Regions from separate parts of the Homo sapiens genome. Here all the other regions are linked to region 1. The links are contacts of gene promoters, found by promoter capture Hi-C in blood cells and fetal thymus (Javierre and others, 2016). All regions are on one chromosome and are shown on one strand. The core of a region is centred on a gene start or on the middle of the fragment in contact, and the rest is flanking DNA. Distances in the headings are between cores, read along the strand shown.

What was found. The method cuts DNA at HindIII sites, captures the fragments that hold promoters and counts their contacts. A CHiCAGO score of 5 or more calls a contact.
Region 2: a contact is called between a fragment that was not itself captured here and the fragment with the promoter of WDR7 in region 1, in 1 of 17 cell types (activated CD4 T cells). The highest score is 8.0, in activated CD4 T cells.
Region 3: a fragment that was not itself captured here is called in contact with the fragment with the promoter of WDR7 in region 1 in 1 of 17 cell types (activated CD4 T cells); the score reaches 5.2 in activated CD4 T cells.
Region 4: a contact is called between the fragment with the promoter of MBD2 here and the fragment with the promoter of WDR7 in region 1, in 10 of 17 cell types (naive CD4 T cells, total B cells, activated CD4 T cells and 7 more). The highest score is 13.9, in naive CD4 T cells.
Region 5: a contact is called between a fragment that was not itself captured here and the fragment with the promoter of WDR7 in region 1, in 1 of 17 cell types (M0 macrophages). The highest score is 5.5, in M0 macrophages.
Region 6: a contact is called between a fragment that was not itself captured here and the fragment with the promoter of WDR7 in region 1, in 2 of 17 cell types (fetal thymus and non-activated CD4 T cells). The highest score is 9.7, in fetal thymus.

The regions. Positions count from the first base shown.
Region 1 is chr18:56,649,619-56,653,314 of GRCh38, reverse strand. It overlaps WDR7 (WD repeat domain 7), which reads right to left and starts at 1,956. Exons shown (of 28, transcript NM_015285.3): 1 at 1,739-1,956. RefSeq lists an enhancer at 1,836-2,225. The HindIII fragment of the contact is 1,105 bases long and covers 1,724-2,828 here.
Region 2 is chr18:59,351,274-59,354,969 of GRCh38, reverse strand. It overlaps LMAN1 (lectin, mannose binding 1), which reads left to right. Exons shown (of 13, transcript NM_005570.4): 4 at 390-451; 5 at 1,669-1,768. Among named protein-coding and RNA genes, the nearest start is that of LMAN1, 6.1 kb to the left of the region's middle. The HindIII fragment of the contact is 836 bases long and covers 1,688-2,523 here.
Region 3 is chr18:59,143,493-59,147,188 of GRCh38, reverse strand. The region is part of intron 1 of SEC11C (SEC11 homolog C, signal peptidase complex subunit); the gene reads right to left. Among named protein-coding and RNA genes, the nearest start is that of SEC11C, 5.5 kb to the right of the region's middle. RefSeq lists an enhancer at 2,597-2,646. The HindIII fragment of the contact is 1,438 bases long and covers 883-2,320 here.
Region 4 is chr18:54,223,112-54,226,807 of GRCh38, reverse strand. It overlaps MBD2 (methyl-CpG binding domain protein 2), which reads left to right and starts at 2,139. Exons shown (of 7, transcript NM_003927.5): 1 at 2,139-2,790. The coding sequence starts at 2,249. RefSeq lists enhancers at 215-755, 756-1,298 and a silencer at 2,049-2,438. The HindIII fragment of the contact is 9,949 bases long and covers 1,773-3,696 here.
Region 5 is chr18:54,260,120-54,263,815 of GRCh38, reverse strand. LOC124904307 (a long non-coding RNA gene) reads left to right here. Exons shown (of 2, transcript XR_007066379.1): 2 at 2,655-3,696. Among named protein-coding and RNA genes, the nearest start is that of POLI, 7.5 kb to the left of the region's middle. RefSeq lists an enhancer at 1,604-1,663. The HindIII fragment of the contact is 7,662 bases long and covers 1-3,696 here.
Region 6 is chr18:54,358,470-54,362,165 of GRCh38, reverse strand. C18orf54 (chromosome 18 open reading frame 54) reads right to left here. Exons shown (of 9, transcript NM_001288980.2): 2 at 3,296-3,392; 3 at 1,311-1,639; 4 at 1-523. The coding sequence starts at 1,593. Among named protein-coding and RNA genes, the nearest start is that of C18orf54, 2.4 kb to the right of the region's middle. RefSeq lists enhancers at 3,674-3,696, 3,245-3,696. The HindIII fragment of the contact is 1,222 bases long and covers 1,104-2,325 here.

The sequences.
Region 1 (3,696 bases), core at 707-3,206:
GAATCGCTTGAGCCCGGGATGGGGAGGTTGCAGTGAGCTGAGATCACGCCACTGCACTCCAGCCTGGGCAATAAGAGCGAAACTCCATCTAAAAAAAAAAAAGAAGAACGAAAAATGCAGGCAGGGGAGATGCCTTGAACAGCCCATTGAATTGAGTAAGATTAACTCCATCCTCTGCACCTGAGGTCCAAAATGAACTTTAAGGACTCATACATCTAATAAACATCACACCACTAAAGCTAAATGTCATCCTACCCCTCTCACGAAGAAAACACAAAACAAGCTCACTACTTTGAAGATTTTCGATGCTAAGTGTGTTACATGGAGAAACCACCCAACTTCCTTTAACTTCAAAACGGAACATATATCAAAGATAAAAGGAAACTGTAAGATACAAGGGTCACTACCCCTAAAATTTAAGTTAAATTCTTACAGGGATATTCAAACCAAGCCAAGCCCAGTCCCTTTGATTCACCCAGTCACCGAGATCTTTTAAAATTTAGTTACAGGTGGCAATAAGAAAAAATAAAGGGCATACTCTCATTTTTCTCTTAAAGTATTTCTCTGAAACACTCTTAAAATAAGGATTGGCAGTAAAATAAATGAATTTTCTACCATAATCCCTAATTGACATTAATAATAAAGCATTAATTATATTTATAGTGGTTCGTTTTCCCAATTTATAATAACTAATATGTATTGTTCTGGATGGAACTAGACAGTTTTTTATTCTTTGTAATAATGAGGGCATTTCAACACATTATGTTCACTTTTAAGCTGACCTTCATACAGCCACGAGTTTGTTTATAAAGCAAGAAGCAGAGTCAAACTAAAATTTTTGTTTTACAAAATGTCAAAAACTCAGTTAATTTCTTTCATACAACAGGCAATTCCTGCAACCTTGCCCATAAAATCCTAAGACATAAACACCTGAAAGAGTCAGTTTGCCTTTTTTTGTCTCATGGCAAATATTACAGTGAGAGGAAGCTATAGCTGCCACTGACCGAACCCTAAATTCAGCAGCATCAACAATATCAATGCAGCCTGTCATGCGACGGTAGGTTCCCTAGTTTCAGACTATCTAACCCAGCAAATTCTGCCTCAAAAAGTGACATACTAAGTGGGTAAAAAACATAAAACAGCAATTTTTGAATCAAAGTTAGGGTAGTGCTGACTTCAAACATAGCTTCAGAACGCTGGGACCCATCACTAAGTGAATGGGAGTGACTGGCATCCGCTCAGACAAGTACTAGGGCAAAGGGATAAGAACTGGCAGATGGCATCTCAAAAATGAAATTCTAACAGTGGTGTCAGTACCTTGGGCATGGGCAAAAATAGTACCAACAGGAAAGGAAAGACTATATGAACCCCAAAAGCAAGCACATCGCCCAAAATTGCTGTCAATAACCACCAACGATCATCACCAATCACCTGATCCCGTTTAGATTGCACCTGGGAACCAGGCAGTCCCACCTCAAGACCAAAGCAACTGTCACAAGTAGCAAATATCACTCACCAGGCAAGGGAGCCACAAAGACCCCCGGCTGGCCCCCACGCTCTTGGTAACGGCGCCTACTTTTGGGCCCGACCTGCAGGCTTGCAGCCGCAGCGATCTGACAGCTAGCACCGCCCCCGGCTAGAGCGGGTTTGTGACCTTTGACCCCTGACCCCTGACCTCCACGGTGCAGGAACATCCCGCCCTGTGGTTTCCCATGGAGAAGCTTGAAAGCCCCCTTACCTGTCACAGCTTCATCTCATGCCGCGATGTAGCCTATCAGACCGCCGGTGGGCGCCCCAGCCAAGGAGGACAAGGATAGGGCGGAACTACGGAGGATGCGGGGTGCGTAGATCCTGCTGGGATAATCCGTGGGGCGGCAAGCGCTATACAGCCGCCGTCTCCCCAGTGATACTGCAAGGTGCCGGTGCCGCCGCCGCCGCCACTGCAGTAAATCAGCTGACACCAGCCCCAACTGCCGTGACTTTCGCTGCAACTGTCGCAAAAATGAGGGGGCGGGAAAGACTCACCATTTCCCTACTTGCAAGGCCTAAGCCGGCGCCGAGAGAGCCAGCCGCGTTACGATGGAGACCGAAAGTGGAGAAAAGGCCAGCTGTGGGCAAGGAGTGCACGGCCGCCATCTTGGTTGTGGGAAGTCTCGTCTAGGCTGTCCTCTCTCCAGTTGGGAGGACCAAGATGGAGCGAAGGATGAAGTAGCAAGTGCACGTCTTTCTTGGGAGCAGGATGTTGCGCAAGTTTACACTTCTGACCCCATCACACTGCTTCCCACTGAGATGCAAGAGGTAGGGAATTCCCTAAACACTGGAAAGTATGTTGGATGCTGGAAAGCTAAAAAGAATGACAAATGTCCCCCAAGATAGATAAGCTATAGTATAGTGCAGGATGAGAAATGCCAAATAAGGAGCAAGGAAGAAAAGAGATGAATTATTTCTAGGTTGGGGTAAGGAAGGATAATCACATTAGGTCATATGGAAGTCTAGAAAAATTGGTCAGATTTGGAATAATAATTGGGAAAGGAAAACAACTTTGTCACCAGCATTGAAATGTAAAACATGAATATATGCAATAAATAGAAAGTTAAATTTGGAAGAAATACAAGGGACGTGAAGTAGGTGAAGTGGGAAAATGTGGTATCAGGGCTTAGCTGTTTCTGCTCCGTGAGCGGCTCCTTTAACAGGCAGTCTATGCCCTGGAGCTCTCTTGTGGGTTGATAGAGACTTCATCACATTCGGCCTAGACCAGGTAATAAAAAAGTAACATGGAAAAATAGAATAATGTAGATAACAAGAGGCTTTTAGTGGCCATATAAGCTTTTTGGTCTTTATTCCAAAGACAATGAAAAGTAATTGAAGACTTTTGACTAATAAATAGTGTAGCACTTTTCCTAACCACATGGTATTCAGGTTTTTAAAATTGCTTTACAACAAATTATCACAGTCTTAGTGTCTTAGTGGCTTAAAGCAACACATATGTATTGCCTCACATTCCATGGGCAAGGAGGTCAGGAACAGGTTAGCTGAGTCCTGTGCTCATGCTCTCACAAGGCTACAAGTGGATGTCAGCCAAACTGCAATTCTCATCTGGAGGCTCAACTAGGGAAGAATCTGATTCCAAACTCCTGTCAGCTCATTCAGTTCCTTGTGGCTGTCTGACTAGGGGCCCTGGCTTCTTACTGGCTCTGAACTGGAAGTGGCCATCAGGTCCTAGCAGCCACCCACAGTTCCTTACCACATGGGCCTTACTAAAGGCTCTCTCGCAACATGGCAGCATACTCCTTCAAAGCTAGCAAGGAGAATCTCTCTACTGAGCACAAGAAAGGAGTCACACAGATATAGATACAGCCATGGATATGGACATGGACATAGATATGGAAATGGATGTAGATGATAACCTAAATTAGGGAGTGACAGCCATCACCTTTGCCATATATTATTGGTTAAAGTAAGTCACGGGTTTTATCTGTACTCAAGGAGAAAGGATTATACAAGAGTGTGACTTATCGGGGTCACTTAAGATGGGCCAGCCACAAATATTAATTTGGCAGCAATGTGCCATGTAAATCAGGTGGGAAATACAGGGAAGCAAGGAGACAAGTGAGATGTCGTCATTGTTGTTGTAACCAAAAATGTATGGTTATCACTGCAAAAGAATCATAAATGAGACCCACAGGATAAAATCGG
Region 2 (3,696 bases), core at 856-3,355, 2.7 Mb before region 1:
TAAGCACATCCAAGTCCATGACTAATGCTAGCTCACATATTCATGTCTGGTCATATGTTAATCATTCTTTTTGATCGGGCCAATTTTTCTGATGATCTCTCCTAAAACAGTTAAGATCAAAATGTACTTACAAATTGGAAACATTAGCTTGTGGCTTAACAGCCTTAAGGTTGATGATCTTCCCATCAGCTGGTTGTTTCTCTATTAATTTTCAGGGGTTATTGTTAGCAATTTAAAGAACTTTAGTAATTCCTTGAGTGCCAAGGCCAGGTTATTTTAAAATTTTGAGTCCTAGAATCTTAGATATGTAAGTCACTTCATAGTACATCAAGAATGATGTAGAATGCTTTGATTAAAGACATTTTTTAAAATGTTTTCCTTTTTTTTAGAAAAATAATCCTGCTATAGTAATTATAGGCAACAATGGACAAATCCATTATGACCATCAAAAGTAAGTGTGTGTTTTTTACATTACTCCTGATTTCAGCTTCTTTTTGGAATCCTTATGAAATACATTGTTTCAAATCTGAACACCTTCCAAATGAAAAAAATACTGTTCTTTTTCTTGAGACATATTTTGTAACTTGGTAGAAAGGTTTTATTTTATTTGGTTCTGTTCTGAAGTTCTATCTGTGGACCATCTCAGATTCAACCATGGTATGTGTTTTTAATTTAACCTCAAATTATTTAATAATATACTTTTGAAAGTTTATAGACTGTTCCTGGCTCTCAGTGATGCCACTAATCATGCATTTTTATCTTCATTAAAAGGGATCTTTAAAAAATAAAGTTGAGCCTTGATTATTAAGGCTGATGATTAAGCAATTTATGCCATCTTATTTAACTTCAATATTGTGTTATTTAAAGACTCAGTGGTTTGCAGAGATTCTAAGTGTTCAGTACAGTCAACCCTCTGTATTTGTGGGTTCCGTATCTGTGGATTCAACCAACTGCAGATCAAAAATAATACAAATTATTTTGTGTACGCAACAAGAATACAAATTTTAAAATACATTGTAACAACTATTTACAAAGCATTTACATCATATTAGGTGTGATAAGTAATCTAGAGATGATTTAAAGTATACAAGAGGATATGTACACGTTATATGTAAATACTGTGCCATTTTATATAAGGGACTTCAGCATCTGAGGATTTTGGTATCCACAGGGGTCCTGGAACCAATGTCCTATGGATGTTGAAGGATGACTGTATATTTATAATGTATATAAATTAGGTATGTACATTTTTTATTTTCACGTGTTTGTTGTGGAGGAAATAGCTTTTAACCAGTGAACTGTAAGAAAGGTGACTTATCCATGTGCCTGTTTACTGTTTTTCTGCCTTAGTGAGTTTCAGCCCTGGTAGTTCATCATAACTCCCTATGGAGCTATTTAAAATGGAGGTGCCTAGGCCACCTCCTTTTGATTCTGCTTCAGTTGATTTGGAGTGGAATCTACATGTTAAAAGCCCAGAGAGTGATTCATGTTCTGCCCTAGGGTAGAGATTCACTGCCTTAGTCTCATGTAGTCTCGTGTAGTCTTTTGAGTAAATAACATAAAGTATCTCAAGACTTTTTCATAACTTGATATTATTTTAGTCTTCCTGAATTTTTAAATATTGAAAAGCTGAGTGTCTTGTCTGTTTTCCTCCCCCTTACACTATAGTGACGGGGCTAGTCAAGCTTTGGCAAGTTGCCAGAGGGACTTCCGCAACAAACCCTATCCTGTCCGAGCAAAGATTACCTATTACCAGAACACACTGACAGTAAGTAACATCTATTTAGAGAGAATCAAATAAACAATGTTACAGTATCACTTTTCATTTTGAATTTTTGATAGAAATTAAATGCACTTAAATTTGGATATGCTTACATACTCTTCATTGTTACTCTAAGAGAACGGAGGTGGCTTCACAGCTCAGTGTAAGTGGTCATCTGTTGTAAACCCCTGATGGTATGTTTCCATTTAGTCAGTAAATGTTTAAGCCCCCTACTGTATAGCACATGTGAGAGATATATATATCTATAGATAGATAGATAGATAGGTAGATAGATAGATAGACGGATAATCTCCAAGCCTTCAGGATACAAATATGAGTAAGACAGATGGACTTTCTCCCCAGAGAGCTTATAGCCTAACAGAGGACACACAAATGTATCATTCCTATGCTGTGTGATAAATGCTGCGTTGCAGACACTATCAAGCGGTCCTGTGGTTAGAATCCTGTAACTGCCAGGTGGAGGTGGGGAAGGGCAGGAACATTTTCTCAGAGTTGAGCTGTGCCCTACAGGGAGATCAGGAAGTTCCTGGGAGTTGGGGGAAGAGGGTGTGTGTGTGTGCGAGTGAGTGGGTGTACTCCAAGCACAGAAAGCAGGCATAGGCCCTTGAGAGAGCTTGAAATATTTTGGAAAGGCATGTAGTTTGGTGTGGCTGGGAGATAGAAGAGATCAGTGAGCAGTGAGGTTGAAAGGGCAGTAACAGGCCTTGCACAGCTTCCTGTAGTTTAACCCATAAGAAGCTTTTAAAAATGTTTAAAGGGTTTTAAGCAGGAAGTGAAATTATCAGATTTGCAATTTAGAAAGATGACTTAGGTCCCAGTATTCTTAGTACCAGTTTTCTTGGGGTTAGGGGTGAACACAGTTGTTGAGTCAAGGAGAGTTCCTGAATATAGCCAATTGGACAGCTAATTGGTACTATTTACTAGCAAAGAAGCAGCACATTTGTTTGTGTTTTATCTGTTTGGGGGAGGAATGGGAAATCAGAGGGTTGGTAATGAGTTTAGTTGTAGGTAAATTGAGGTTAGCATAACATATAGGTGGAGATATCTAACTGGCAGTTATGATAACTAAGATCACTATGCATTGTAAACTTTGCTTTTTAAAGATGCCATTAATACCTGGTTATATAATACTTAAAAGTAAAAAAAATAGTGTATGAATTTTTCTTTCACCTAAATCATGAGCTAGACTTACACTCCTGGGTCTAAATCTCTGAGAAAGTTAGTTCTGTGGAAAACTGTATTGGCTTAGTCTTAATTCCAAGCTAATTTAGAGATCTTAGAATAGAGCAAGTGTCCAATGTATTATAATTAGCTTGGGTTTGAATTCCACTATAATTATTCACCCTGTACAGTTTCATTAGAGTCATCAGTAAGTCTTGCTTACCTGCATGTAGCAAAGCCCAGACATCAAGCATGGTGGGTGCAGACTGTCCGTGTGACCCAACACCGTGAGGCTGTGAGCCCTGGCAGCACTCCAAAACAATAGCCTTGCAAAACGTACTCCCCAGAAAGGGTTCCACAATTGATGAGATTGGTCACTACTCTGCATATTAGCACATTAAAGATTTCTTTATGAAGGATCCTTTATAAAGAAAGGATAAATAAACCTTTATTAGACCTCACATTTCCCAGACTGACTTAACTATGGAATTTTTTTTCACCTAATGTCTATGAGTGATCATGGAGCTAGTGTTTTCAGGTACACGTTTTGAAGAGACTGGCTGGACACGTGACTGCTACTTATTGGTTTTCACCTCTCTGTACATCTCAGTCTGGTAATAATTCCTTTTCTTTCTACTTGTTAAAGTCATACTTAGCTTTGAGCACACAAATTCAGATCCCTTTTCTATCAGATTTCCTAAACAGCTCATAATGATCTGTCTCTCCTAAACTCTTAGAGTATTTTTTTTTCT
Region 3 (3,696 bases), core at 352-2,851, 2.5 Mb before region 1:
AAAATACACAAGGCCTGGAAAAGTCGGAGTGAAAGACACTCGGGAAGTCCAAATGGAGACTTTGCCAGGTGGTTCTACGTGGTTCTGACTTCTCAGTGTCCGGACAGTTCTTTACAGCAGCAGCGCAAGCATCAGCGTGCACTAGGATCAGCTGGCGATGCCTGAGGACTGCACTTCAGACACATTCCCAGGTGACACGAAAGCTGCTGGAGTGGGAATCACAGCTGAGAACCACTGCTCTATACCATTGGTTCTCAACCTTGGCTGCACCTCAGAATCATCGGGGAAGCCCTGGAAAGTCCATCCCAGACCAGCTGGATCACTGGGAGGGGTGGGGTGATTCTGAGGTGCAGTGAAAGTTGAATCACGGCTCTATACCTCCTCCTCCCATCAGCTAAAGACTCTCCCATCGCAAACCCTTCCTCCACCTCACATCCTCCTCCAGCTTTCACACTCTCTTCTCCTTCACAGCTCTTCTCAAAACAGTGTCTACCCCAAGTTGCTCCCCTTCTTCACCATCTATATTCAGTCCTCAACCTACATAGTCAGTCACATGCTCACTAAATCCAAAGGATAACTGTCGGCCCTCACCTTACCTGACCTTCCAGCAGCTCTCAACACACATGATCATTTCTTCGAACCCTCAGCCCCTGCCTTCCAGGATGGCATGCCATCCACTTCTCACCACTTTCTTGTCTTCCTGCCAGTTGCTCCTCCTCTACCTGAATCTCCTCCTCTACCTGAATGCTGGCATTGGTCCCATCAGGCTAACTACTCCCAATTCAGAGACTTCCAACTGCCTACCTGATGTTTCCACTTAGATGTCTTTAAAGATACCCCATCCTCAACATGTCAAAATTAAACTTACCTTCTCCAAAAGCTTTCAGTATTAGGGATCCTTCTCTCAGTAAATGACATTATTATCACCCTGCTGTTTGGAGCCACCCCCTACCCATTCATTCTATACATTCTGGCTTTCCAAACACGTCTGGAGTTTGTCCAGGTCTCTCTATTCCCACTGCTGCCACTCTCATCATATCACCAACGGGGCCCATCAGGCTGCTGTGAAGCCTCATGACAGGTCTCCTAATGCCCATGCACACCTCTTCTGATCCATTCTCTGTGATACACTCTGGGCGGTCATGCGCCACTTCATGACAGACACATTCTGAAAAATGCGTTGTTAGGTGATTTTATTGTTGTTTGAACATCATAGAGTGTACTTATACAAACCCAGATGGTGTCGCTTACTATACCCCTAAGCTATACGATGTAGCCTATTGCTCCTAGGCTAGAAACCTGTGCAGCATGCTACTGTACTGAATACTGCAGGCGACTGTAACACACTGGTAAGTATTTATGTAACTAAACATAGAAAAGGCACAGTAAAAATATGGTATAATTTTTTGGGACCACCATCATGTATGCAGTCCACCATTGATGGAAACATCATTATATGGTGCTTGACTGTACTGGTTTTCAAATGCACATCTGGTCACCTGGTTGTCTATGCCCTGCCTAAAGCCCTTTGATTGCATCCCACTACTCTGAGGATGAAGACTAAACTACAATATGGCCTCTAAGGCCCTGTCTGATATAACCCTGCAGCCCCGCTTCAGCCTGTGAAGCTCGCCTCACCCCAGCTGCACTGGTGGTATCTGTCCATGCTTCCACCTCACATGCTTCTTTCCACCCCAGGGCCTTTACCCAGAAGGCTCCCTCCCTGAACCCCTTAGTTTACCAAACACTCACCTTTACATCCACCTTTAAATGTCAGTGTCCAACAGAACCCTGCCCTGACTGGCTAGACCAGAAATCAGCAAATTTTTGTGTAAAGGGCTAGACAGTAAATATTTTATGTTTACGGGTCACATAGTCTCATTGAAACTACTCAGCCCTGCCAATGTAGCGGGAAAGCAGCCATAGACAATATGTAAAAGAAAGAGCATGGCCGTGTGCCAATAAAACTTTACAAAAACAGGTGGTGCAATGGGGTTTGCCAATCTCCACTCTGGCCAGCCTAGGTCTTCCTATTATATATTCTCACTGCATCCTGTATTTCTTTGTATCGTTCATCAGCATCATAATTAAGCATATAATTACCTAATGTGTCTTTTGCATTAGACCTTACATTCCACAAAAGTAGGGATCATTTCAGCCTTGCTCATAGCTGTATCCTCAAGATTCAACATGGGTTTGGCAAAAGTTAAGTATTCAATTTGTTGAATAAATAGTGATAAAATAAACATCTTTAATGGTGAGTGCAAACAAATCAGCAATAAGAAAAACACTAAAATTCCAACAGAAAAAGGTAAAAGCTTAAAACTATAATTTTCCAAAGGAAAATACAAGTAGTAAATAAACATAAAAAATGTTCAAACCAATAATCCTGCCTCTACCCTCCTTGCAACCCCTTCCTTTTTTTTTGTTTCTAGCAACTTTTTTTTTTTTTTTTTTTTTTTAAGATACAAGGTTTCAGTCTGTGGCCTAGGCTAGAGTGCAGTGGTGCAACCATAGCTCACCACAGCCTCAAACTCCTGGGCTCAATGGATCCTCCCACCTCAGCCTCCCAAGTGGCTGGACTACAGGCATGTGCTGGCATGCCTGGGTAGTTCTAAATTTTTTTCTTTGGTAGAAATGGGGTCTTTTTATGTTGCTCAGGCTGGTCTTGAACATACTAGCCTCAAGCAATCCTCCCAAAGTGCTGGGACTATAGGCGTAAGCCACCACACCTAGCCTTTGCCTAAGAAATTTAAAGTGTCTGGTTTTTTTATTGTTGTTGTTAATACTAATACTTAGTGCTAGCAAGAATACACTGTGATGGGGATACAAATTGATAAACCATTCTGAAAGCTATTTGGCATTAGTATTAAGAGGTTACTCTTGGCCCATAATCCTACTTCTAGGAATTCAGTATAAACTAAAGGCAGGTTGAGAATTATGGCCCGAAGACATTTATTACAGTCTTAATTCTAATAATGTGGAAAAGGAAATAAATGAGCAACAATATGGAAATAACTGAGTAGAAAGTGGGGCCAGGTGCAGTGTGGCTCATGCCTGTAATCCCAGCACTTTGAGAGGCCGAGGTGGGCGGATAACCTGAGCTCAGGAGTTCAAGACCAGCCTGGCCAACATGGTGAAACCCGATCTCTACTAAAGATGCAAAAATTAGCCAGGCATGGTGGTGCATGTGCCTGTAATCCCAGCTACTCGGGAGGCTGAGGCACAAGAATCGCTTGAACCCGGGAGGCGGAGGTTGCAATGAGCCGAGATTGCACCACTGCACTCCAGCCTGGGTGACAGAGCAAGACTCCATCTCAAAAAAAAAAAAAAGAAAATGGCAGATTACTCCACTATTTAAAACAATGCATAAAGAACTTAATGGGAGTGGAGGAGAAAGCGGGTTGGGTTGGGGGAGGAAAATAAAAAGGAACTTTAATGACATGACCAAACACAGTATGTTGAGTGAAAAATGTAAGCTGCAGTAGGATCTCACCAAACGATAAAACAAATACAAAGAGATGCCCCAAGACGCTAAGAGAGGCTATTTTAGGATAGTGAAATTATGAGTCATTGACTTTTCTTCTTTAAACTATTCTCTATTCTGAAAACAAACTCTGACTGATGTAGGAAAAGCAGAGCTCAGAACTGTCTCTTGCTAATGTTAAAACTGTAAAAATAGGTAATTTGAGGCAA
Region 4 (3,696 bases), core at 890-3,389, 2.4 Mb after region 1:
TTTTATATCCAATATATCATTTGATCTACAGCCTTATTAGCACAGCATGAAAAGGTAGAATTTTCCAAAAGCATACCTGTTCCCATCTGTTGTCTCAACTACCTGTCTCAATTACCGTTTCTACTGAGATTTTTGCTCATGTTTACCCTTTACTTTCAATTATGTGTGAAAATCAGAGTACTCTCTTATGTCATACAAACTTTAATATCATTTTTTTCCTTTATTCCTTCAGTGGAACCTTAAGTATTGGCATTCCTCAAGATTCAGTTCTTGATCCTCTTTCCTTTTATTATTAACCACGCAAGCCCTTCCTTGGAGAGCTTACTTACTTCCAGGGCCTCCTTCAACTGTCACTTTCACAAATGACTTTTTTTTTTTGAGACGGAGTCTCGCTCGGTTGCCAGGCTGGAGTGCAGTAGCGGGATCTCGACTCACTGCAATCTCCGCCTCCCGTGTTCAAGCGATTCTCTTGCCTCAGCCTCCCGAGTAGCTGGGATTACAGGCGCACGCCAGCACGCCCAGCTAATTTTTGTATTTTAATAGAGATGGGGTTTGACCATGTTGGCCAGAATGGTCTCTATCTCTAGACCTCGTGATCCGCCGGCCTCGGCCTCCCAAAGTGCTGGGATTACAGAAGTAAGCCACCGCGCCCGGCCACAAATGACTTCTTTTTTTTTTTTTGAGACAGAGTCTCGCTCTGTCTGCCAGGCTGGAGTGCAGTGGCGTGATCCAGTTCACTGCAAGCTCCGCCTCCCGGGTTCACGCCATTCTCCTGCCTCAGCCTCCGGAGCAGCTGGGACTACGGGCGCCCGCCACCACGCCCAGCCAATTTTCTGCATTTTTAGTAGAGACGGAGTTTCATCGTGTTAGCCAGGCTGGTCTTGAACTCCTGACCTCAGGTGATCTGCCCGCCTCTGCCTCCCAAAGTGTTGGGATTACAGGCGTGAGCCACCGCGCCCGGCCCACAGATGACTTCTAAATGAATGTCTCCAGTACTGATCTCCTCAGAACTCATTTCTTGATGATTTTTTACATTCACATTTCTAAATTTCTTGTAGGAAACCACAAATTAGTGTCTTTCAACTAAAGGACATTAAAAGAAGACTAAGGTCAGGTTTAGAGACAGACAAGTTTGTGTGTATGAGTTAATGTTTGCATATACTGCAAAGATAAACCAAATTAATTTTAGATTTTTGTTGCTTTATATTAATCAACTTTTTCTATACGTTAAACTTGGTCCTCAGTTTTTAGGGCATATGAGTATAGAAACCCAAGATAGCTTATCATCAGGCTGATAACATGTGCTTTACATTTTTCAATCTTCCAAATATTTCATAATATATTATCTTGAATATCAATAGCACACTTCTATAAGTGTTCGACAACTTATAGAAAATATGCATTTCTAAAATTCAAGTTGGCAGACCGAAAAGAATACCACACAGTTTCCTAAAGGCTTGTGACAGTAAGTTAGGCTGGACTTTCAACATAATGGAATATTTACCAAATAAAAGGCCACTGATTTTTGTATTAGACAAAGACATCTGGAAATTTCTAGATGGATTTAGGGATTCTGGTCATTCTAAGGAGAATCTAGAGGTAAGCCCCATCTGACTCATGGGCATATTCCAAGTTATCATTTCCTTTCCTACATCCTTACAAGGTTCCAGGAGAATCTGTCAATGGCTCTGAAGCCAGGCTCAGGAGGGAACTGGTATTCAGCGAATGGGACACTTTGCTTCATTCCTTCATTATAAGCTCCCCTGCAAGCTTTGTGCAGAGGGGCGGGAAAAGGGGCTATCACCCCCTTAAATGAATAGCCGAGTTGGTATGTAATATAAGATCTATTTTGCTTGTTATTCATTAATTGGGAAGCAAACATAGGTAAAATCACATAATGGTGGAGGTTACCCCGTTTGAAACAAACTAACCACAGTCACTATGACACCCCCAGCTGGTGGCTAGCCCGACCAACCTTCCCAGCTCCGCGCGCCCAGTGGGGGCCGGAAAAGCGCGGGAGGGGGCGTGGCCCCGAGAAGGCGGAGACAAGATGGCCGCCCATAGCGCTTGGAGGACCTAAGAGGCGGTGGCCGGGGCCACGCCCCGGGCAGGAGGGCCGCTCTGTGCGCGCCCGCTCTATGATGCTTGCGCGCGTCCCCCGCGCGCCGCGCTGCGGGCGGGGCGGGTCTCCGGGATTCCAAGGGCTCGGTTACGGAAGAAGCGCAGCGCCGGCTGGGGAGGGGGCTGGATGCGCGCGCACCCGGGGGGAGGCCGCTGCTGCCCGGAGCAGGAGGAGGGGGAGAGTGCGGCGGGCGGCAGCGGCGCTGGCGGCGACTCCGCCATAGAGCAGGGGGGCCAGGGCAGCGCGCTCGCCCCGTCCCCGGTGAGCGGCGTGCGCAGGGAAGGCGCTCGGGGCGGCGGCCGTGGCCGGGGGCGGTGGAAGCAGGCGGGCCGGGGCGGCGGCGTCTGTGGCCGTGGCCGGGGCCGGGGCCGTGGCCGGGGACGGGGACGGGGCCGGGGCCGGGGCCGCGGCCGTCCCCCGAGTGGCGGCAGCGGCCTTGGCGGCGACGGCGGCGGCTGCGGCGGCGGCGGCAGCGGTGGCGGCGGCGCCCCCCGGCGGGAGCCGGTCCCTTTCCCGTCGGGGAGCGCGGGGCCGGGGCCCAGGGGACCCCGGGCCACGGAGAGCGGGAAGAGGATGGATTGCCCGGCCCTCCCCCCCGGATGGAAGAAGGAGGAAGTGATCCGAAAATCTGGGCTAAGTGCTGGCAAGAGCGATGTCTACTACTTCAGGTACCTCCCTGGGGGCGGGGAGGGGGTGGCGGGGTCAGGCCGGGGTCAGGGGTCAAGAGCGGGCCTGGGCAGAGGATGAGCGCTGGGGCCCGGGGGGCATGTGGCAGGGACAGGCTGGTTTGGTGGTGGAAGGTGGCGGAACCCTTGGGTGAGAGTTGACCCCAGTGCGGTGGGAGGCAGTGTCAAAAGGTGAGGGCCCGCAGGAGGGCATCTTATGTGGAAGGCGTCGGGGAAGATGGTTTGCGAAGAAAGGGTTAGCCTGGCAGGGATGGTTAGTCCACTGAAGGGTTAAAAGGAGGTGTAATTCATCGAAACTATAAAACCCAGTCACTGTTGGCTCCTGTCCCAGCCTGTCCCAGATTCATCATCACAAGTGTTAAGCATGCACATGTGGAAGAATGAGCTATCTACAGTAACAAGGTTTCATTTACTTCATCCAAGAAAGTTTTGTATAAAGCAGCTATTTGGAATGCCTGAAGTTTTTTTGGAACTTCTTGGTATTGCAGAATATACTCTTTTGAAACTGACACACTGTACTAAGTTTTTAGACTCCTAGACCAAAATTTGCTCCCCAGGGAACATTTGTCAATGTCTGGAGACATTTTCGGTTCTCACACCTGGGGAGGGTGTGATACTGGCATCTAGTGGGTAGAGGCCAGAGATGCTGCTACATATTCGATAATACAAAGGAAAGCTGCCACAACAAAGAATGATCTGGCCCAAATTGTCACCTGTGCTGAGGTTGAGACATCCTGTTTTAAATGATTCAAGGTTTTTCACCTTAGTGTAATCTTGCAATCCCGTGGTCATGCTGCTGATGTCTTCAGTTTGTGTGACCCAGTAAGCTCAAGAAAGTGCCTATGGCAATTGACATCCGTGGACTTAATACACATTTACTAAATTTTG
Region 5 (3,696 bases), core at 444-2,943, 2.4 Mb after region 1:
GTATACTGTTTTAAGTTTATAGACATTTAACTTTAATGAAACATTTTGTAAAGTACCTCTTTTTCTGATTGCAAAAGTAATACATTATTATTATAGAGAATTTGAAAAACATAGGACTTAAGAAAATGATGGAAATAATCTGTAATAATCCATAATCTTGATGCTCAGAAAACCATGCTTTAATCATTTTTTCACAAAGCATGACAAAAAGAAAGTTGCGGTTTTTTTTTTTTTTTTTTCCCGAGACAGAGTCTCACTCTGTCACGCAGGCTGGAGTGCAGTGGCACGATCTTGGCTCACTGCAACCTCCACCTCCCAGGTTTAAGCAATTCTCCTGCCTCAGCCTCCCAAGTAGCTGGGATTACAGGTGTGCACCACCATGCCCCACTAATTTTCTGTATTTTCCATGAATAAATTTGTGTATTTATTTACCAAACCACGAAAACCACTGTAAGATGCATTGCCTAAATAAATGACACAGAAAACGTTCTATCCATGTATTTGTTTTTAATGTTAATTCGAAGAACATGAATAAAGACAGTCTCAACTTCATCTTGGAAATGCTAACAAATTCAACTTAATAATCTCCATTTTTCTGGTTTGAGATTAATATAAACTCTCTATAAAGAAAAGTAATGCTTATATTTATAGGACTTTTTCTTACTGTTGCTTCAAAGACTTCATTGAAGTACTTATTGATCCTAAAATTACTGCTTCTGTGTCTACTTAAAAATTTTTTTTCTTCATATCCATTGTTTAAGAAATCTTACTAAAACAAAAAGGTATAAACCATAAAGTTAAAATCCTTCCTAATCCCCACTCCACCTTGAGGTGACCATTGCTAACAAAATTTGATACATTTAGGCTTTTATTTATAATATTCTTAGTATAAGGAAGACACAATGAAAAATATTCTAATTCACATGAGTGGGATCACACTATGTATACTATTTGCATTAGACTTTTTTACCTAGTATATCTTGAACACCATTTCCTTTCAGTGCACAAAAATGTACTGCATTCTTTTTAATGGCTACATTGTTTCACCAATTCCATAATCATGGACACTTATTTCTGATTTTTTGCTGTTACCAGTAATGCTGCAGTGAACATTCTTGTTCATATACCTTTGTGCCCTTCTTCATGGGTTTGATCCCACCCTTCCCTAAGACACATCCAATCTCCTAAAATTCTAGAATAATGTTATATTTTCCAAATTCTCCATCATAATCATGGATTACTTTTTCAATTAAAAAAATGAGGTACTGGCTGGATGCAGTGGCTCACACCTGTAATCCTACCATTTGGGGAGGCCAAGAAAGGAGGATTGCTTGAGTGCAGGAGTTCAAGGCCAGCCTGGGCAACATAACAAAATCCCATCTCTACAAAACTTTAAAAATTAGCCAAGCATGATGGTGTGTGCCTGTAGTCCCAGCTCCTGAGGAGTCTGAGGTGGGAGGATTGCTTGAGCCTAGGAGGTCCAGACTACAGTGAGCTATGATCACGCCACTGCACTCCAAACTAGGCAACAGAGGGACATTGTTTTCCAAAAACAAACAAAAAATGAGGTACTTAAAAAATTACATTAAAGTTAGATGTCTATAAATTTAACACAGTGTGCCTGATCTATGTTAATCTGCTTGCACTTTCTGTATTACATCAAGTAGTTCCCTTTCTCTCAATGACTGAAACTTGCAGACTTTATTTACAAGCACATTATGACACATGAGGCCTGTCGGGTCTACCTCCAAATGTTCTCTCAAATCCCTCTACTTCTCTGTGTCTGTACTGACACTACCCCCACCCCCGCGCCCCAGCCCACATACATACAGTTATCTCTGGTTTGGCCTGCTGTACTGGGCTCCTAGTATCTGCTTTTTACAATCTGTGAGCCTTAGGACAGCCAGAATAATATTTTAAAAATGTAATATCTAATTTCCTTTTCCTGCCAAAAATCCTTCAAAGGCTTCCTACAATACCTAAAGTAAAAATCAAACCCTTTACTCGCCATGGTCCTCAAGGCCCTGATGGAGCAGGCTCCATCTCTTCTCTACTTCTCATAGCAAGTGACCATCTTTTCCTACACTTGGGCTACTCTAGCCCCTTTTTTTTTCCTTTTTTTCTTTTTTTTTTTTTTTGAGATGGAGTCTTGCTCTGTAGCCCAGCTAGAGTGCAGTGGCACGATCTTGGTTCACTGAAACCCATGCCACCTGGGTTCATGTGATTCTCCTACCTCAGCCTCCCAAAGAGCTGGGATTACAGGCGTGCACCACTATGCTTGGCTAATTTTTGTATTTTTAGTACAGATGGTGTTTCACCATGTTGGCCAGGCTGGTCTCGAACTCCTGACATCAGGTGATCTGCCTGCCTCAGCCTCCCAAAGTGCTAGGATTACAGGCGTCAGCCACCACGCCCAGCCTCTAGCCCCTTTTCTATTCTGGCGACACATATTAGTTGTGGGTTGGATACCCAGAGGCCCAGGAGAGCCAGTGGTATAGTTCTAGTCTGAACCAGAAGGCCTGAGAACCAGGAAAGCTGATGATGTAAGTTCCAGCCCAAGCCTAAAACATCAGGTGAAGACTGATGTCCCAGCTCAAAGACAGTCAGATAGAGGGTGCAAATTCTCCCTAACTCAACCTTTTTGTTCTATTCAGGTTTTCAATGGATTGGACGACGCCCATCCACCGTGGGGAGGGAAAACTGTTCTACTCCATCTGCTGATTCAAATTTTAAGCTCATCTACAAACACTTCAAAGATACTCCCAGAATAATGTTTAACCAAATATCTGGGTCCACCATGACCTAGTCAAGTTGATACATGAATTAACCATCACAGGACAATTTTCTGCCTCCAAATCATTCTGAAGTTTGGAACGTTTTTCACAGAACTGGTTTGTTCTCTTTTTTGAGTTCTCTGTTCAAATGTCAACACCTCAGACTGACCTTTCCAAACTGCACTGACTCAGAAGGCCTCCCCCAGAGTTACCACATTCTCTCATATCTTACTGAGTTTCGTTTATAACACTTATCCCAATATGTAATTATCTTATTTACATCTTACTTGTTTTTAATGTCTCTCTCTCCTATTAGAACATATTAGGGTGGAAAACGTGTATGCCTTGTACTTTAATAGAATCCACCAAAAATATACTTGCGGTAAATAAATATTATTTATTTCTTTTTTTTTTTTTTTTCAGATGGAGTCTCATTCTGTCGCCCACGCTGGAGTGCAGTGGTGTAATCTCTGCTCACTGCAACCTCCACGTCCTGGGTTCAAGCAATTCTCCTGCCTCAGCCTCCCCAGTAGCTGGGATTACAGGCACATAACACCATGCCTGGATAGTTTTTTGTATTTTTTTAGTAGAGACCGGGTTTCACCATGCTGGCCAGGCAGGTCTCGAACTCCTGACCTTGTGATCCGCCTGCCTCGGCCTCCCAAAGTGCTGGGATTACAGGTGTGAGCCACCCCGCCTGGCCAACAAATATTATTTCAACATCAGTGGAAAAATTGACACCTGAATGATGTCAGATTTAAAAGACTGTTATAAACAAATTTTCCTTACCAAATTCCAAACACTATATGTAGATAAGCCCTCCTGTAGGAAGGCTAATCTCCCCCTTTCCTAATCTCCCCCTTTTTGCTGGTGGGCTAGACATAGTGACTGGTTGCTGAAGAATAGAGTGTAGAAGGAGAGG
Region 6 (3,696 bases), core at 465-2,964, 2.3 Mb after region 1:
TCTTGATTGTGCAGCCAGACTGGGTATTTGAAATCAGGTATACTAGTTATCCCTGAAACATTAAGGTCAGATTTCTGGCTAGTGAGCCATCTTGGGTAATTCTTTTCAAGACTGTGTTCTGAACTGTCCTTGAAAGACGATTTCTTGGGAAAAGACAAAGATGATTCAGAAATGCAATTATTAGTCCTATTCATAAGTTTTGGGTTTTTCAGCCTACCACATTGCTTTCCATTTATATTTGAGCGTATAACAGGAGTAACAAAGTTATCCTTGCCCATGGAAGTGTAGGGTCCTTGAAAATGTGGATTCTTCTCAATGTCCAATGAACCCAGTCTTCCACGGCATTTCTTGTTTTTCTTGCTCGTTCGGTGACTCGGTCCAACATAAGTATAAGAAAATGATCCATCTGCTGGGAGTCTTAATAGATCATCAGTTGTTAGGCTCATGGAGTCTATGTCATTAACGGTGTGTCTTCTACAGGATATGAAGTTTGAGTGCTTTTTGTGATCAAGGTTTTCAAAAGCTGAAAAACGAAGAACAGTTTTGTTTATTACATACAAATATTTTATAATATCCAACAGTAAATGAGAATTAAGAATTTAAGAGGCATTTTGCTGCTTTCCCCTTATCCTCACTAAAGCTTTGATTAAAAGCATAAAAAGGTGTAGGTGGATAAAACAGGATGTGCTTTTTTTCTCACGATTCTTCGTTCTGTGTTAATTTCTACGTTTCTCTCCAACCTCCTGAATTTTCCTGTGTTCTCTAATTTACTGTTCCTTCAACTTTCATCATCTAGACATATCTGATACACTAATACAATCACAGTAACATTGGTCACTCAATATTGGTTGCAGCATAGAAAAAAATATGCTATTAAACTAGGTGGAAAAATAACTTGTTTTCTCACCTACAAACCCTTCAATGGCATGGATTATACATAGAGAACAGCTGTTCTCATTCTTTGCTTCCGGAATATATTGACCACATCCCTCCAAGAACTGAATACAAACTTTTTCTATTCTAGGGTCATTCTGCAAGTGTTAAGTAAAGTAGTAATTGACTTATCAACAACTGCATTTTCCAAACTTGTCTTCAAGGAAGCTTTATTATGGACAAACTCTTAACATCTTGTGAATATTACTGTTCCACAGAGAATTATATAATCATTTTACAAAAACACCCAGATCTCAATATTATGTTATTTTTACTCCAAAGTAACAAAAATAATGTCAAACTTTACAATACTACAGTACATCTCCCAAATGCTTCAAAACATCTGAACACAAAGAAAACAAAGAATAAAAGCATACCATTGTTTGGTTTGTAAATATAGTTGCAGAACTGTGACATATTAGTAAAATCCTCATCAATGTTAATTTTTCCAGTGCTTGCACCAGGATATATTTGGCCTAGATCAAAATCATCAATATAAGCCTGTAGAGCTTGAGAAGCAGATCTGTACAGCTTATCTTTATAGTGAAACGAGCCATCAGAATTAGAGGAATTACTACCACTCAGGGTGCAGCTTGCCAGCAGGGCAGATACTGAAGATTCCTGAGAACAAAGTCTATGTTTTGTCTTTGATTTCGCCATGGCTTCTTCAAAGTGGATTGTTTCTATTCATTTCCCTTAAAAACAACTGTAATACAAAAACGAAATGTTAAGATGCCAATTAAAAGTGACCATACACAAACAAAATTACTAAATATGTAAACCTTTTGTAATTTTCTTTAAATAATAAAATCCATTATCTATAACAGACACTCCTTGTTAGGAATTGTAGATTTTTGTTATATTTATTATTGTGAATTCCTTCATCAATGATTTAGAAAACATTTTTTGAGTACCTACTATGTGGCTGGAAGTATGTATACAAAAATTATCTGAGAATATACATGGAAAATACCAAGGAGAGAGTACTCACTTCTTAAAAAGTCCTAAAAACTACTTATGAACCTCTTTTCTCTTATGGTGATATATTCTATGACATCACAATACCTAATATTCCCCTATACATCATATTTTTCAAATCATAAGCCTACTACCATGTGCTGCAGATAATAGCGCTCAATAAATTTTTTAAAGCCATCAAATGAAGTATTCAAAACAAGAACAATGGAGAATATTCACTTTCAATGTTATAAATGCTAGTACATTTACAACATTTAACTGTAAATAAACTGCAGGTCTTATTCTGGAATGAGTTAGCAATATACACTTTTCCTAAAATAGTTAATCATTTCCTGACCTTCGTTTTTGGTACCACCCTCCCTATTTTCAATTCTTATGTTAAATGGATTCAGCTCACCTCTTTCAAAGGAAGCTTAAATAATGTGAAAATCAACTCAATGTGTTCTTCTGTTTTTCCATTATTAAAATTGAGAGAATCCCTGTCTACCTCAGTACAGTAACAGGATGTATATTTGAAAACCTAAGAAATCACAGAACGAACCGGCACTAATTCAGTCCATGATGACATTCTTTTTAAAATTAAATGAATGGATTTCCTATACTAAAAAAGTATTAATGTTGAGGACTTAACATATGCTATGATGTTATAATGTTTAATTTTTGGCTATAATTTTAGAAATATTTGTTATAACAACTTTTAATGTAATCTTAGTAACTATTAAATTTGGCTTTAAAACATCGAAAGTTTTCTAATTAAATAAGAGACAAAGTAAAACATCATCCTACCACAGCGTTAGAGCATGCAATGGCCATTACAAGAGATCTGACCGTGGTCAGTGCAAATGGCAGAACATAAGGTAACAGTTGTTTCGTCTCATTGATTTATCTGAATTCTGTAATACTGGTATATCTCTGACGAATGGCTAAACTAAGCCAGCTTTACCTTTTTCGTATCCCTTTTATTTAAAGAAGTTTAAACTCACTCAAGTAAATTTGTTTGGATAAGCCTGACCAAATGTTTTCTGTCTTTGAATGCCGAACAGGCTACTGATTTTATTTTACAAAACCTTGAAAGAGAAAGCTGTTGTATTGGTCTCCGTAAGTGGGTGATAACATTTACTAGTTATTTCAACTCACAGGACAGACAAAAAGAAAATGCACAATTTAAGTTTCATTATGAAAAGTTTTCCAACTTTTCCCCAAAAGAGTATACAAAAGTAGAATCGTTCAATAAACCCCTATGTACTCATCATCCTGCTTCCAACAATCGCTGAACAGACCCCAATTGTAGCTAAAGTGGGTAGGGACCCACCCACTTCTCCCCACTTCAGCCACAGGATTATTTTGAACCCCACATATCTCATGCAAATCCCATATATCTTACCATTTCCTCCGTACAGGCTTCAGTTCGAATCTCCAAAAGAAAATCCATCACGCGGAAGAACAGAATGTTAAACTTATTGACAACAAATTTTAACTAACTTTGATTCAAAAACAGAATGTTCAGTGTTAAATAGCCAATGGGAATATCGCACAGGAAATTAAGAACAACTCTTGGAAATAGCTCTGTGACTGCTAAGTTAGGAAAGGGAACGTTTGTTTACTCGGCAGCAGAAAACCAGGAACCCACCGACCGGCCAGCGAAGGTCGCCCGTCTCCAGCAGTGCGCATCGTTCCCCTACCCCGGGCGCCCTGAATTCCAATTTTTCCAGTCCCAATCAGGCGACACCCTCCCTTTGGTGTTCCACCGCCCGTCAGTCACAGACACAGACAAGTTCTTCAGTG